Linked DNA regions of Homo sapiens: region 1 is linked to region 2. The links are contacts of gene promoters, found by promoter capture Hi-C in human tissues and cell types (Jung and others, 2019). All regions are on one chromosome and are shown on one strand. Each heading gives the region's core, a stretch centred on a gene start or on the middle of the fragment in contact. The rest is flanking DNA. Distances are from core to core; before and after follow the strand shown. Region 1 holds the start of ZNF837 (zinc finger protein 837). Region 2 holds the start of ZNF552 (zinc finger protein 552).

The links. Contacts are between HindIII fragments. The study calls those that stand out against the background at their distance.
Region 1: the fragment with the promoter of ZNF837 here is called in contact with the fragment with the promoter of ZNF552 in region 2 in 1 of the 25 tissues and cell types used here (small bowel).

The regions. Positions count from the first base shown.
Region 1 is chr19:58,376,296-58,382,414 of GRCh38, reverse strand. ZNF837 (zinc finger protein 837) reads left to right here and starts at 1,385. Exons shown (of 3, transcript NM_138466.2): 1 at 1,385-1,474. It overlaps LOC105372484 (a long non-coding RNA gene), which reads right to left and starts at 4,832. Exons shown (of 2, transcript XR_936130.2): 1 at 4,306-4,832; 2 at 3,390-3,630. RefSeq lists a silencer at 1,124-1,633 and enhancers at 1,984-2,043, 1,578-2,119, 2,074-2,303, 2,120-2,661. The HindIII fragment of the contact is 47,170 bases long and covers 1-5,340 here.
Region 2 is chr19:57,813,077-57,819,403 of GRCh38, reverse strand. It overlaps ZNF552 (zinc finger protein 552), which reads left to right and starts at 4,491. Exons shown (of 3, transcript NM_024762.3): 1 at 4,491-4,693; 2 at 5,984-6,110. The coding sequence starts at 4,661. RefSeq lists an enhancer at 4,167-4,216. The HindIII fragment of the contact is 37,727 bases long and covers 1-6,327 here.

The sequences.
Region 1 (6,119 bases), core at 136-2,635, 570 kb before region 2:
CAAGTGCCCTTCAGCCTCCTGCTCGCCCTCAATTAGCTTGGTAAGCCCTGAGTTTTGTACTTGGGCAGGGAGATAGACCTCCTGACAAGGCTTTCGATGTGCAGACACCCAAAGGATGGAGAAAGGGAGTGGAACAGTCCCAGCATCCCTGAAGCAGATGCAGTGGAGGCAGAAAGGTGGGGCAAACTGGGTCGTTACATGCAATATATGTGCTGGACTGGCCAACAAAATTAGATGTCCCTATTGAGGGCAGGAGCCACACAATAGATGGGGGCAAGAGCTGGGGGTTACAAATGGGTAGGAGGCGTGACCAGTTCATCCTACCTGGGAGGGCCCGTAGAGTCAGCAACACCCAAAGGGGCTGGGGAGGCTGTGGTTCCCCAATGGGGCCGCACGTGTTAGAATCAACTAGGAGCCGGACTAGGGGCCTGGCGCAGTGGCTCAAGCCTGTACTCCCAGCACTCTGGAAGGCTGAGACACGAGGATCGCTTGAGCCCAGGAGTTCCAGACCAGTCTGGGCAACATATGGAGACCCTATCTCTAAAATAAATAAATAAATAAAAATAAAAAAACTATCCAGGCATGGTGGCTCCCACCTATAGTCCCAGCTATTCGGGAGGGTGAGGTGGGAGGGTCGCTTCAGTACAGGAGTTCGAGACCAGCCTGGGCGACATAGTGGGAGGAGGAAGGGAGGGGGAGAAGGAGGGGGAGGGAGAGAAGAAAGAAAATTAGCCGGGCGTGGTGGCGCGCGCCCCTGTTAACAGCTACTCTGGAGGCTGAAGTAGGAGGATCGCTTGAGCTCAGGAGGTCGAGGCTGCAGTGAACCGTGATGGTGTCACTGCATTAGCCTGGGCGACAGAGCGAGACCCCGTCTCAAAAAAGCAAACCAAAAAAAATACAAAAAAATAGACTTAACTGAGGAGTTTTGACGCGCATATGCTCGGGCCCAGTCCCAGATTCTGATGTTATCGGTCTGACTCGCAACGCGCTCACCAAGACACTTCAGAGCTCCCCAGGTGCTTCCCAGCCCAACTCTCCCACCCGAGGGGAGCCTGCGAACCGCAAGTCGGTTCCGGGTTGGGACCTCTTAGAAATCAGATTGGGAGAGGAGGCTATCAATCATAATCATGACCAGTCACCCGCTTTCACGAGAAGGAATGGGCGGGACCCTACGTCCCCGTCCAGAACGCCGTTTCTTTGGCGACGACTTAGGTCCACGCCCCGCCTTTTAGGTGTAGCCGGCCTCTGTTTCTATGATAACCGAAGCCCAAGCCTCTCCCTACACCGCTTTCTCCGCAGCGTCAAAGCGGGACATGACGGGACTACGTTTCCCAGCAGTCCCCGCGCGGGTTCCCGCCTGCGCTTGCTGTGGCCCGGGTCCCTCAGTGCCGCGGCGGCCCGGAGGTGGCGGGAGGACGGCTCCGCGCTGCATGCGGGGCGGGGACCAGGGACCCGTGCGGGCCGCCTCCAGAGAGTAAGTGGCATTCTGCGCGGACCCGCAACCTCGGCCTGCGAGGCGGGGACCTCCCGGCGCATAGCGCGGCCACCACCCCAGTCCCCTCTCCACCTCCGCGCGCGGGGTCCGGGGCAGAGGCGTGACGCCGCGCACTTCCGGTCCTCGCGCTCCGGGTCCGGACCGGCCACACAGCACTCGCGACCTTGAGTTCCGGGCGGGACGGGCTTCTGTAGTTCTGGCCCCCGCGTTTCCGTGCTGGGTGTCATTGAAGCCCGCGAGGGGAGGCTCCAGGCCCGGGACCCATCCTGGCGGCCTGCGGCTCTCGGAGTCAAGCCCACCTGCTAGCCGAGGCCGACGCCGGCCTCCCTACCGTCTCTGCCCCCGCATCCTGGCCTTTGCACTTTGCTCTTTCCTTGTCTGCAGACCGGTTTCATGCCCCCTCTTCACAGAGGCCCGAAGAATCCGCTGCCTCCCTCCCTGGCGCCCTCGCGCTGCTCCCTGTCTGATGTTCTTCACGTCTTTTTCTCTCTTAAACGGTCTCTTGTTCATTTCTTCTTGTCTGCGGTCCCCTCCTTCACTCACTATTAGAGCAGGATGCAGCACCGTTTGGCCCTGACACAGTGGATGTCCTGCGAGGGTTGAAGCTTGCTAATCCTTGAGGGTGGAGGCACTGTCGGGAGGACAGACACAGAAGGGAGCTGTGCCTGCACTCAGAGGACATTTCTTCTGCTGTACAGTGCATGATGCACTGTTCTTCCCATTGCGTGCACAGTGTAGAATTGGACATAGGGGCTAGAGTCTGTGTCCCCTGGGACTGTCAGTGTGGGTGAGGTTGGTCTGTGGCTCAGAGAGGTGGAGCCACGCTGAGCTGGGCACTAGCCTGTGTCCTCCACACCTCAGAGCCACCAACGTTGACTTCCCTGCACATTCTGTTTTTGTTGTTGTTGTTGTTGTTGTTGTTTTGAGACGGAGTTTCGCTCTTGTTGCCCAGGCTGGAGTGCAGTGGCGCGATCTCGGCTCACTGCAACCTCCGCCTCCCGGGTTCAAGCGATTCTCCAGCCTCAGCCTCCCGAGTAGCTGGGATTACAGGCATGCACCACCGTGCCTGGCGACTTCCCTGCACATTCTCTTGGGCAAATAAGACCTCATTGTGCCGTGTGCAACCTCCATGAGGATGTTGAACCTCACTAGCTTTCCTGTGTGTGCTGTTGCTCTGCAGTTCTGCAGGGCTCAGCCTTGGCCACGTTAACCTCTCAGTCCCCCTAAATTGGTAACTCTGCATCCTGTTCCCAACACCAGAAGCCCTAAGGACAACTAGAAAGGCTGGGCGAGCACCCAGGTGCAAGCATGCTCACCTGGGGCAGGTGGGAGGTCACTGTAAGAACAGCCTGGGAGAGCTGTAATGCACCATCAAGGACGGGCTCCTGGGACCTGGGACCCAGAGCCTCGATTGTGTTTGCTGTGCTCAGCCTCAGATCATGGGTCCATGGCTGGAATGCCACCCACCTACAGGTGGGATAGTTGGACAGTGCATCCTGGGAGCAGATCAAGGAGACGAAGAGACTCGGCCATGGTCCACAGCTCCCACCTGCTGTGTCTGGTGCTGGGAGGCAGGTTCTTGTTGCAGCAGAGGAGCCACCCCTGGGAGCAGGGCATCTGGGGACCAATCCGAAGATGCTGTTAGCACATGGCTAGCAGGTGCCCCTCAGCCCCCACCTCCCACAAGTTCAGGGTCCCTTTCTGCCAAGTGGGGACTGCTGGTTCTTCAGGACAACCCAGCTTCCCCAACCCTCTGTTCAGACACTAAGCAGTCCTCTGACTCCCCATCACTAGGGATCAGGAGAGCCCCTTACAACACACACATTCTGTCGAGGGTGCTAGACCAGTCTCTATTAGTTTCTGTGGCTGCTATAACACACTACCACAAACTGGGCAGTTTAAAACAACAGAAATTTACTCTCACAGTCCTGGAAGCCAGAAGTCTGAAATCAAGGTGTCAGCAGTACTGTGCTCTCTGACGGCTCTGGGTGGGGGTCTTTCCTTGCCTCTTCCGGCTTCTGGCGGCTCCGGGTGTTCCTTGGAGTGTGGCTGCATCACTCCAATATCAGCCTCCATCTTCACATGGACCACTCTTCTCCGTGTCAGAACTCCCTTTGCCTCCTTCATAAGGACACCTGTCATTGGAATTAGGGCACACCCAGGTTATTCAGGGTGATCTCATCACAAGATCCTTAATTATGTCTGCAAAGACCTAATAAGGTCACATTCTGAGAGTTCCGGGGTTAGGACATTGGATATATCTTTTGCAGCCTCCTTCAGTGGAACCTGCCTGATCCTGGGTGACCTCATGTGCCCATCCATTCTTGGGCCTGTCCACTGATTCCATGGTGATCAATTGTCCCTGTTTGGCCAGGCTGTCCCAGGTATGGTCTTTCACCCTGGGAAGTCCTCAGCCCCTAAGTCCCTAGAGTTCTAGGAAGTCATGCTGAGTGCTGGTCCTAGCCCTGCTCATGCCACCAGCTGTTGTACAGACTGTGACATGAAGCCAGCAGCCTTGGAGCTAATAGCAAGGCAGGTGCCCAAGTCCCTCCATCCCTGACATCTGGGTCTCTGTGACCTGGAGTTGTGTCAGAGAGGTCCAGATCCTGGCTGTGGGGCTTCTGGGATGGCACATTGTGAAAGCGGGGCCCCTGACCTCCTGCTGCTCAGCATCCATAGTGGCATGCTCCCTCCTCCGTGTAAAGGGCTGGAGTCCACACTGGTACCCCCATCAGAGTCTATGGCTGGGGAGTTCCCTGCCCTATGTGTGGGGACCTCAGATCCCAGCCTGGCAATGACCCTGGACCAACCCCTTTAGCAGTGGGTCCTGGTGGCTTTCTCAGGAGCTCTTCAGTCAGCCTGGCCTCTCAGAGGTAGACGAGGGAACACTACAAAACCTGCAGTGCTCAGAGACAGAGGCTTGAGAGAGTGTGGGGAGGTGGGCAGGATGGGCCTGCCCCGAATAGCCAGGTCCACGGCCAGCAGATGGACTCGAGAGAGAGAAGCCGACACCTGTGAGAAACGCCAGATACTGTGTGTGGTGGTTGGGAGCCAGCAGGCAGCCTGGGTGTGGACAGAGCTCCATGGTCAGACAGACCAGAATGTGTGTCTCCATGTCTTGTGTCCTGCCCTCAGTCTCCTCCCTCCCGTCACAACTTCCCATGTGGTGGCAGCAGTGCCCTTGGGTGTGTGCCCCTGTAAGGAATTGCCCTGTGCCCTGAATATCATTCCCAGCGAGCATGTTCAGTTTCTAATGAAGAGTTTTCTTTGCTTTCTTTTTTTGAGATGTGGTCTCACTGTGTTGCCCAGGCTGGCGTGCAGTGGTGCAATTGTAGCTCACTGCAGCCTCAATCTCCCAGGCTCAAGCGATCATCCCACCTTAGCTTCCTGACAGCTGGGGCTACAGGCTTGCACCACCACACCTGGATAGTTTTTTTTTTGAGATGGAGTCTCGTTCTGTCACCCAGGCTGGAGTGCAGTGGCAAGATCTCGGCTCACTACAAGCTCCGCCTCCCGGGTTCACACCATTCTCCTGCAGGCGCCCACCACCACACCTGGCTAATTTTTTCTATTTTTTAGTAGAGACGGGATTTCACCATGTTAGCCAGGATGGTCTCAATCTCCTGACCTCGTGATCTGCCCACCTCCCAAAGTGCTGGGATTACTGGTGTGAGCCACTGCGCCCAGCCTTTTTTTTTTTTTTTTGACGGAGTCTCGCTCTGTCGCCCAGGCTGGAGTGCAGTGGCACGATCTTGGCTCACTGCAACCTCCGCCTCCCGGATTCCAGTGATTCTCCTGTCTCAGCCTCCCGAGTATCTGGGATTACAGGTGCGCGCCACCTCGCCTGGCTAATTTTTTGTATTTTTAGTAGAGATGGGGTTTCACCATGTTAGCCAGGCTGGTCTCAATCTCCTGACCTCGTGATCCACCCACCTTGGCCTCCCAAAGTGTTGGGATTACAGGCATGAGTCACCACGTCCGGCCATTTTTTTTTTTTTTTTTAATAGAGACAGGGTTTCACCATACTGCCCAGGCTGGTCTCTAACTCCTGGGCTCAAGCCATCCACCCACCTTGGCTTCACAAAGTGCTGGGATTATAGGCATAAGCCACTACACCCAGCCAAGTTTTCTCTTTGATATGAGTGAATTAACAGACACCTGGTTAAAGAAAATGCTTTTACCCCAGAGCTTAAGCCTCTGATGTGGAAACTATGCTTGGTACTCTGGTATGCAGTTGACTTGGCTGTGTGTGAGAAATTATTTTATTTTTACCTAGAGATTTAAAAGAACTTGTTTTTCTCTTTTTTTTTCCTTTTTTCTTTTCTTTCTTTTTTTTTTTTTTTTTTTTTTTTTTTTTTTTTTTTTGAGACAGAGTCTTGCTCTGTCACCCAGGCTGGAGTGTAGTGGCCTGATTTTGACTTATGGCAAGCTCTGCCTCCCGGGTTCAAGCCATTCTCCTGCCTCAGCCTCCGGAGTAGCTGGGACTACAGGCGCCTGCCACCACACCCGGCTAATTTTTTGTATTTTTTTTAGTAGAGATGGGGTTTCACCGTGTTAGCCAGGATGGTCTCGATCTCTTGACCTCGTGATCCGCCCGCCTCGGCCTCCCAAAGTGCTGGAATTA
Region 2 (6,327 bases), core at 3,242-5,741:
TGTCTACTAAAAATTCAAAAAAAAAAAGTTAGCTGGGCGTGGTGGCGGGCGCCTATAGTCACAGCTACTCTGGAGGCTGAGGCTGGAGGAGAATGGCGTGAACCTCCTTGCAGTGAGCTGGGATCGCGCCACTGCCCTCCAGCCTGCGCGACAGAGCAAGACTCTGTCTCAAAAAAAAAAAAAAAAAAAAAAAAAAGGCGCCTTTCTAGGGCAGAGGAGGGGTCTCACCTAGCCTTAGAAGCCGTATTGAGATTCCTGGAGACTAGTGTCTGTAACTAATCACTCAAGAATTTGGAAAAATACTACTTCAGATTTCGGGGAGCTCAAGGTAAATAATAGGGAGCTCAAGCTGAAACTATTATTTAGGATTCTCCCAAAGGCTAAAAATCCAAATTACCACACCGTTTGAAACAGTCGTTCAGTCGCAAAATACCTGCACTGGAAGCAGAAGCTGATAAGCGTTGTTGTGTTATAATGTGTCTGAAGGCCCTCAGAAGCCTTAGAGTGCCTAAGGCAAATGAAGGAAGTTAGGGATGTGCTCCCCTACAGCAGGAGTGCAAAGCTGAATCTCTGTGATTCCTACAGAAAACAACTCTCCTGCTGATAGAATCTGTGAAAGGAAAATCTTGTGGCCTCAAAATTACTAAGCTAAAGGGAAAAGTCAATCTGGGAACTGCTCAGGGCAAACTTGCCTCCCATTCTATTCAGTCATTGCTCTCCTCACTGAGATAGGTGCATAGTCTGATTGCCTCCTTTGGAAACACTTATCAGAAACTAAAAAGAATCCAACTATTTGTCTCTCACCTACATGTGACCTGGAAGTCCCCTCCCTGCTTGGAGTTGTCCCCGCCTTTCTGGTCAGAACCGATGTAATTCTTACAAATATTCACTGATGTCTCATGCCCCCCTAAAATGTATTAAACCAGCCGGCGCGGTGGCTCAGGCCTGTAATCCCAGCACTTTGGCAGGCGGAGGTGGGCAGATCATGAGGTCAGGAGATCCAGACCGTCCTGGCTAACAGGGTGAAACCCCGTCTCTGGTAAAAATACAAAAAAAAATTAGCCATCCTGGTGGTGGGCGCCTGTAGTCCCAGCTACTAGAGAGGCTGAGGCAGGAGAATGGCATGAGCCCAGAAGTCGGAGCTTTCAGTGAGCAGAGATCGCGCTACTCCACTCCAGCATGGTCGACAGAGCAAGACTCCGTCTCAAACAAAACAAAACAAAACATACAATCTGTGCCCCAACCACCTTGGGCACGTGCCGTCAGGACTTCCTGAAGCTGTGTCACGGGCATGCATCCTCACCTTTGGCAAAATAAACTTTTTTTTTTTTTTAGATTGAGTCTCCCTCAGTCGCCAGGCTGAAGTGCAGTGGCGAGATCTTGGCTCACTGCAACCTCCGTCTCCCAGGTTCAATCGATTTTCCTGCCTTAGCCTCCCGAGTAACTGGGCCTACAAGCGCGCAGCACCTTGCCCAGCTAATTATTATATTTTTAGTGGTTTCACCTTGTTGGCCAGGATGGTCTCAATCTCTTGACCTCGTGATCCGCCTGCCTCGGCCTCCCAAAATGCTGGGATTACAGGAGTCAGCCACTACGCCTGGCCGGCAAAATAAATTTTTCAAATGAACTGAGACCTGTCTCACATTTGGGGGGTTCACAAATCAATTGTAGCATTCAATTAATTGCACCACACTTTTACCCACTTAGTATCCTTTACTTGATATTCTAACTTATATTCAACTCCTTTTAGGAATTTGAAGTCAGTTTTATATATATAAACAACAATAAAGGATTTGGTAGCTTGATAGTGGTAATAGCTACAGTCCTTAAAGGTAGTGCTCTCCATCTGGTCATACTGGGCATTTGTTAAATCCATGAGTTCATGTCATTGATGGGAAGTGATTATCATTGATTTATCTTAAGAGAGCAGGGAGTGTTCTGCATGAAAAATTAAAATTACATGAGAGAAACAGTTGTAAAATGCAAGATACGAAAGCCTATTAATACTGACTAGATAGGCCAGGCATGGTGGCTCATGCCTGTAATCTCAGCATTTTGGGAGGCCGAGGCGGGTGGATCACCAGGTGAGGAGTTTGAGACCACCCTGGCCAATATGGTGACACCTCGTCTCTACTAAAAGTACAAAATTAGTTGGGCGTGGCGGCACGCACCTGTCATCCCAACTACTCAGGAGGCTGAGGCAGAAGAATCACTTGAACCCAGGAGGCAGAGGTTACAGTGAGCCAAGATTGAGCCGTTGCACTGTAGCCTGGGCGACAGAGCGAGACTCTGTGTGAAAAAAAAAAACAAAAAACACTGACTAGGTAATTATTCAACAGTTCTGACAGAAGTAGTTCTGAGGAAACATCAGTAGATGGTGAAAAAACTTAGGGCCTCAGAGAAATGTTAGCACTGATGTCTAAGAGATGGAATTATGCTCAGCACATAATTGGAATGGTCACTCTGATGGTTTTGGCTTCAAAATGAGATTCTTCTTTTTTTTTTTTTTTTTTTTTTTGAGGTGGAGTCTCACTCTGTCGCTGTATAAAATGGACCAATCAGCAGGATGTGGGTGGGGTCAAATAAGGGAATAAAAGCTGGCCAGCCAGTAGCAGCAACCCGCCCAGGTCCCCTTCCACACTGTGGAAACTTTGTTCTTTCGCTCTTCGCAATAAATCTTGCTGTTGCTCACTCTTTGGGCCCGCACTGCCTTTATGAGCTGTAACACTCACCGCGAAGGTCTGCCACTTCACTCCTGAAGCCAGCGAGACCACGAACCCACCAGAAGGAAGAAACTCTAGACACATCTGAACACCTGAAGGAACAAACTCCAGACATACCATCTTTAAGAACTTTAACACTGCCCGTGAGGGTCTGCGGCTTCATTCTTGAAGTCAGCGAGACCAAGAACCCACCGGAAGGAACCAATTCTGGACACAATACCTTTCAAACAAGGGACCTGTCCAGGCTTCCTTCTGATGACCAACCCACCTCTAATGCTGGCCAGTCTATTTCACACAAAGTTCTAAGTTTTCCTGGTGTCATAGTAACACTGTAATCTCCCTTAAATCCTTTCTTGAAATGTTTCAACATAGTTCCTAGTGAAGTGGGCTTACTTTGTGCCTGACCCATGCTTCTTTGAGACAAAACACCACGCTCACACCACACGCACACCACAAAACAAAGAACAGGTAAAAAGGGCACACATACACTTTTACCGTTTACACCAAACCAGAATCAAAATCCAAATCAGAGTATCCAGAAATCCAAGCCAGGTCAAAACCAAAACGAAAGTATCAAGCAATCCAAATCAAGTCAAAAACAAAAACCAAAGTGCCGGTACAGGCATGCCGTGGGTGATCAGGCCACCCTTCCACTCAAATGGAGTGGGCAAGTTCCAAAGACTAGTCTTACCAAGTTTCAGATGTCCGGACTCCAAGTGCCTGTTCCTTCCCAGTGTTCAGCCGCTGCATTGATCCTCTGTGGGGGCCTGCCACACGCCACTCTGGCGAGGTGTTCCACTGGGGCAATTGCCTACCCGGGAGTGCTCTCAGGTTCTGCGTCCCTCAAGCTGGCCAGAGTCCCCTGTAGGGATGCTCCACAGGGCAGGCCTAAGCTGCCTAAGGGGCTGCCTCGACTATCTGTTAATCACCTGGCTTCCCAGTCAGGGAACCAAGAAATGTAGCAGGACAAGCCGCAGGGCTGTATTCAGCCTGGAGCTTTGGCAAGACTCACATCTCCAACTACCAAGCTCCCCAAGTGAGGAATTCCTGTCCCTTTTAAGGGCTTACAACTCTAAGGGGGTCCACATGAGAGGTTTGTGATCGATTGAGCAAGCAGGGGGTACACGACTGGGGGCTGCATGCAGTGGTAATCAGAACGGAACAGAACAGGACAGGGATTTTCACAATGCTTTTCCATACAATGTCTGGAATCCATAGATAACATAACCGGTTTGGTCAGGGGTCGATCTTTAACCAGGCCCAGGGTTGGCACCTGGCTGTCTGCCTGTGGATTTCATTTCTGCCTTTTAGTTTTTACTTGTTTCTTTGGAGGCAGAAATTGGGCATAAAACAATATGAGAGGTGGTCTCCTCCCTTAACAGCACAAACGCTTAATTAACATTTCTTTTTCTTTTGAGACAGGTTCTGTCGCCCAGGCTGGAGTGCAGTGGTGCAGTCATAGCTCAGTGCAGCCTGGACCACCTGGGCTCAAGCAGTCCTGACACCTCAGCCTCTCAAAATTTGGGATTACAGGCGCGCGCCACCGTGCGGGTCAGGAGGCTTCCCTGAGGGCCCCGGAGGTGGAGCTGGGCTTTTCCTTCCGAAGCGCCCCTGGGAATCTCTCTCTTTACGGCCTTGGAACCTGGGAAACTACATTACCCAGAAAGCTCTGCGTCAAATGACAGCACGGCAGAGCCAGTGAGAGTTCACATTGAAGGCGTTTCCGTGTGCGCAAGTAAGGTAGAGGCGGGACTCCCGGCGCCCTTTAGTAGCGACCATTTCCATTGGCGTTAGGGAGTCCTTGGAGCGCTGTGTTGGGACCGTGGTGGTGACTGGATCCAGGAGGTCGAGAGTCGTTCTTCTCTTTGCACAGACGTGACTCTGCAGCTCTTTAACGGCGCCCGCTGCTCTCAACCCAGCTTACCCCACGTGGTCCCATGGCGGCGGCCGCGCTAAGGTTCCCCGTTCAGGTAATTGTGGCGCCTTCCGTGCTCTCCGGTCACCTCCTAGTCACACAAGTCCTAAAGCAGCGAGGGAGCGGCACCTGTTTACGGCTCTGCAACCCGGACCCGGCGTCGGGACACTGAGGCGCTCTCGGGAGGGATCCCTGTTTCAGACACCCGTGGGATGCGGTGGGGAGAGCGACAGGTACAGGGAGGGGCGCGGGCAATGGCCTGGAGATGGACGGATCCGGGAGGATGGAACCTGGGGTCCACAGGCGCCTGTAGGGAACAACCTGTGAGGCGGAACTCCTCCTGGAAAAGCAAGGAGGCTGGGGGCTGTGAAATCATTGCGAGGACACTAGAAATAGGAGAATTTCCAAGAAAGAAGGGACTGGATCAAAGTCCAGGCTTTTAAAGTTTCCTAAAGGCCAAATAAATAACAGAGTAGAGAGGGGATGACGTTGGGGCCCTTTGAGATTGAATCCTTGTAGATCATATAGGTGGTAGAGATGACACTTTGTGCTGAGACACGCAGGTTAGACAATAGTCCAAGGTCACCTGGCTCCGTGGACACAAAAGCGTTCAGGGAGGCCTGAGCTTACCAGATCCTATCAGGGACACAGTCCTGTAAAGTCAGCCTCTTCCCTCAGGCCTTTATGGCTGTAGAAGCATTTAAGGAACGCATACAAGAAAGTGGAGGGTGGGGCCGGGTGCAGTGGCTCACTCCTGTAATCCCAGCACTTTGGGAGGCCTAGGCGGGTTGGTCCGGAGGTAGAGACCAGCCTGACCAACCATGGAGAAACCCTGTCTCTACTAAAAATACAAAATTAGCCAGGCGTGGTGGCGCATGCCTGTAATCCCAGCTACTTGGGAAACTGAGGCAGCAGACTCGCTTGAACCCGGGAGGCGGAGGTTGCGTGAGCCGAGATCGCGCCATTGCACTCCACCCTGGGTGACAGAGCGAGACTCCGTATCAAAAAAAAAAAAAAAAAAAAAAAAAAAAGAATGAGGTGCGTTCAGAGAGGGTATCTCTGCTGTGCTGAAGGTGCCACATTGGGCTTTCCATGACCTCGGCCATACTAGGGGAAGTGCCTGTCAGGAGGGGGTGGACTCTTATATCACAGCCACCGCACAGATACCTATTTGTTCAACTAACTATTGTTGTTGGTGGCTGTACCCCATGACCAGTGGGCCTAGTTTCTCCTATGTTTGAGGACCTTGAGAGGAGGATGTGCGAGAGTAGATGTGTGGGAGAGATGGATTGTGATACCTCAGCATAGGGGTGGTTTGTGGTTTCATCTGTCAACATCATAACAGGGCACAGTGACTTTTGAAGACGTGGCTGTGAAATTTACCCAGGAGGAATGGAATCTCCTTAGTGAGGCTCAGAGATGCCTGTACCGTGATGTGACGCTGGAGAACCTGGCACTTATGTCCTCCCTGGGTAAGTTGCCCACACTCACCCCTGTGACCTGAGCTAGTCTCTGTCTTTCCCCCTCTTTTTCTATTGGCAAGACTTTCTCATGTCAGGAGCATGGACACAGCTTCCTACTTCAGTTCTTGGTTGGTAGGACTGAGGTATGCATACTGCCCTCTCCATTCTTGGAGCAGCCCCAACACCTGCTATTGAGCTCCCAGGGAAGAATTCAGAGTCAGAAGTC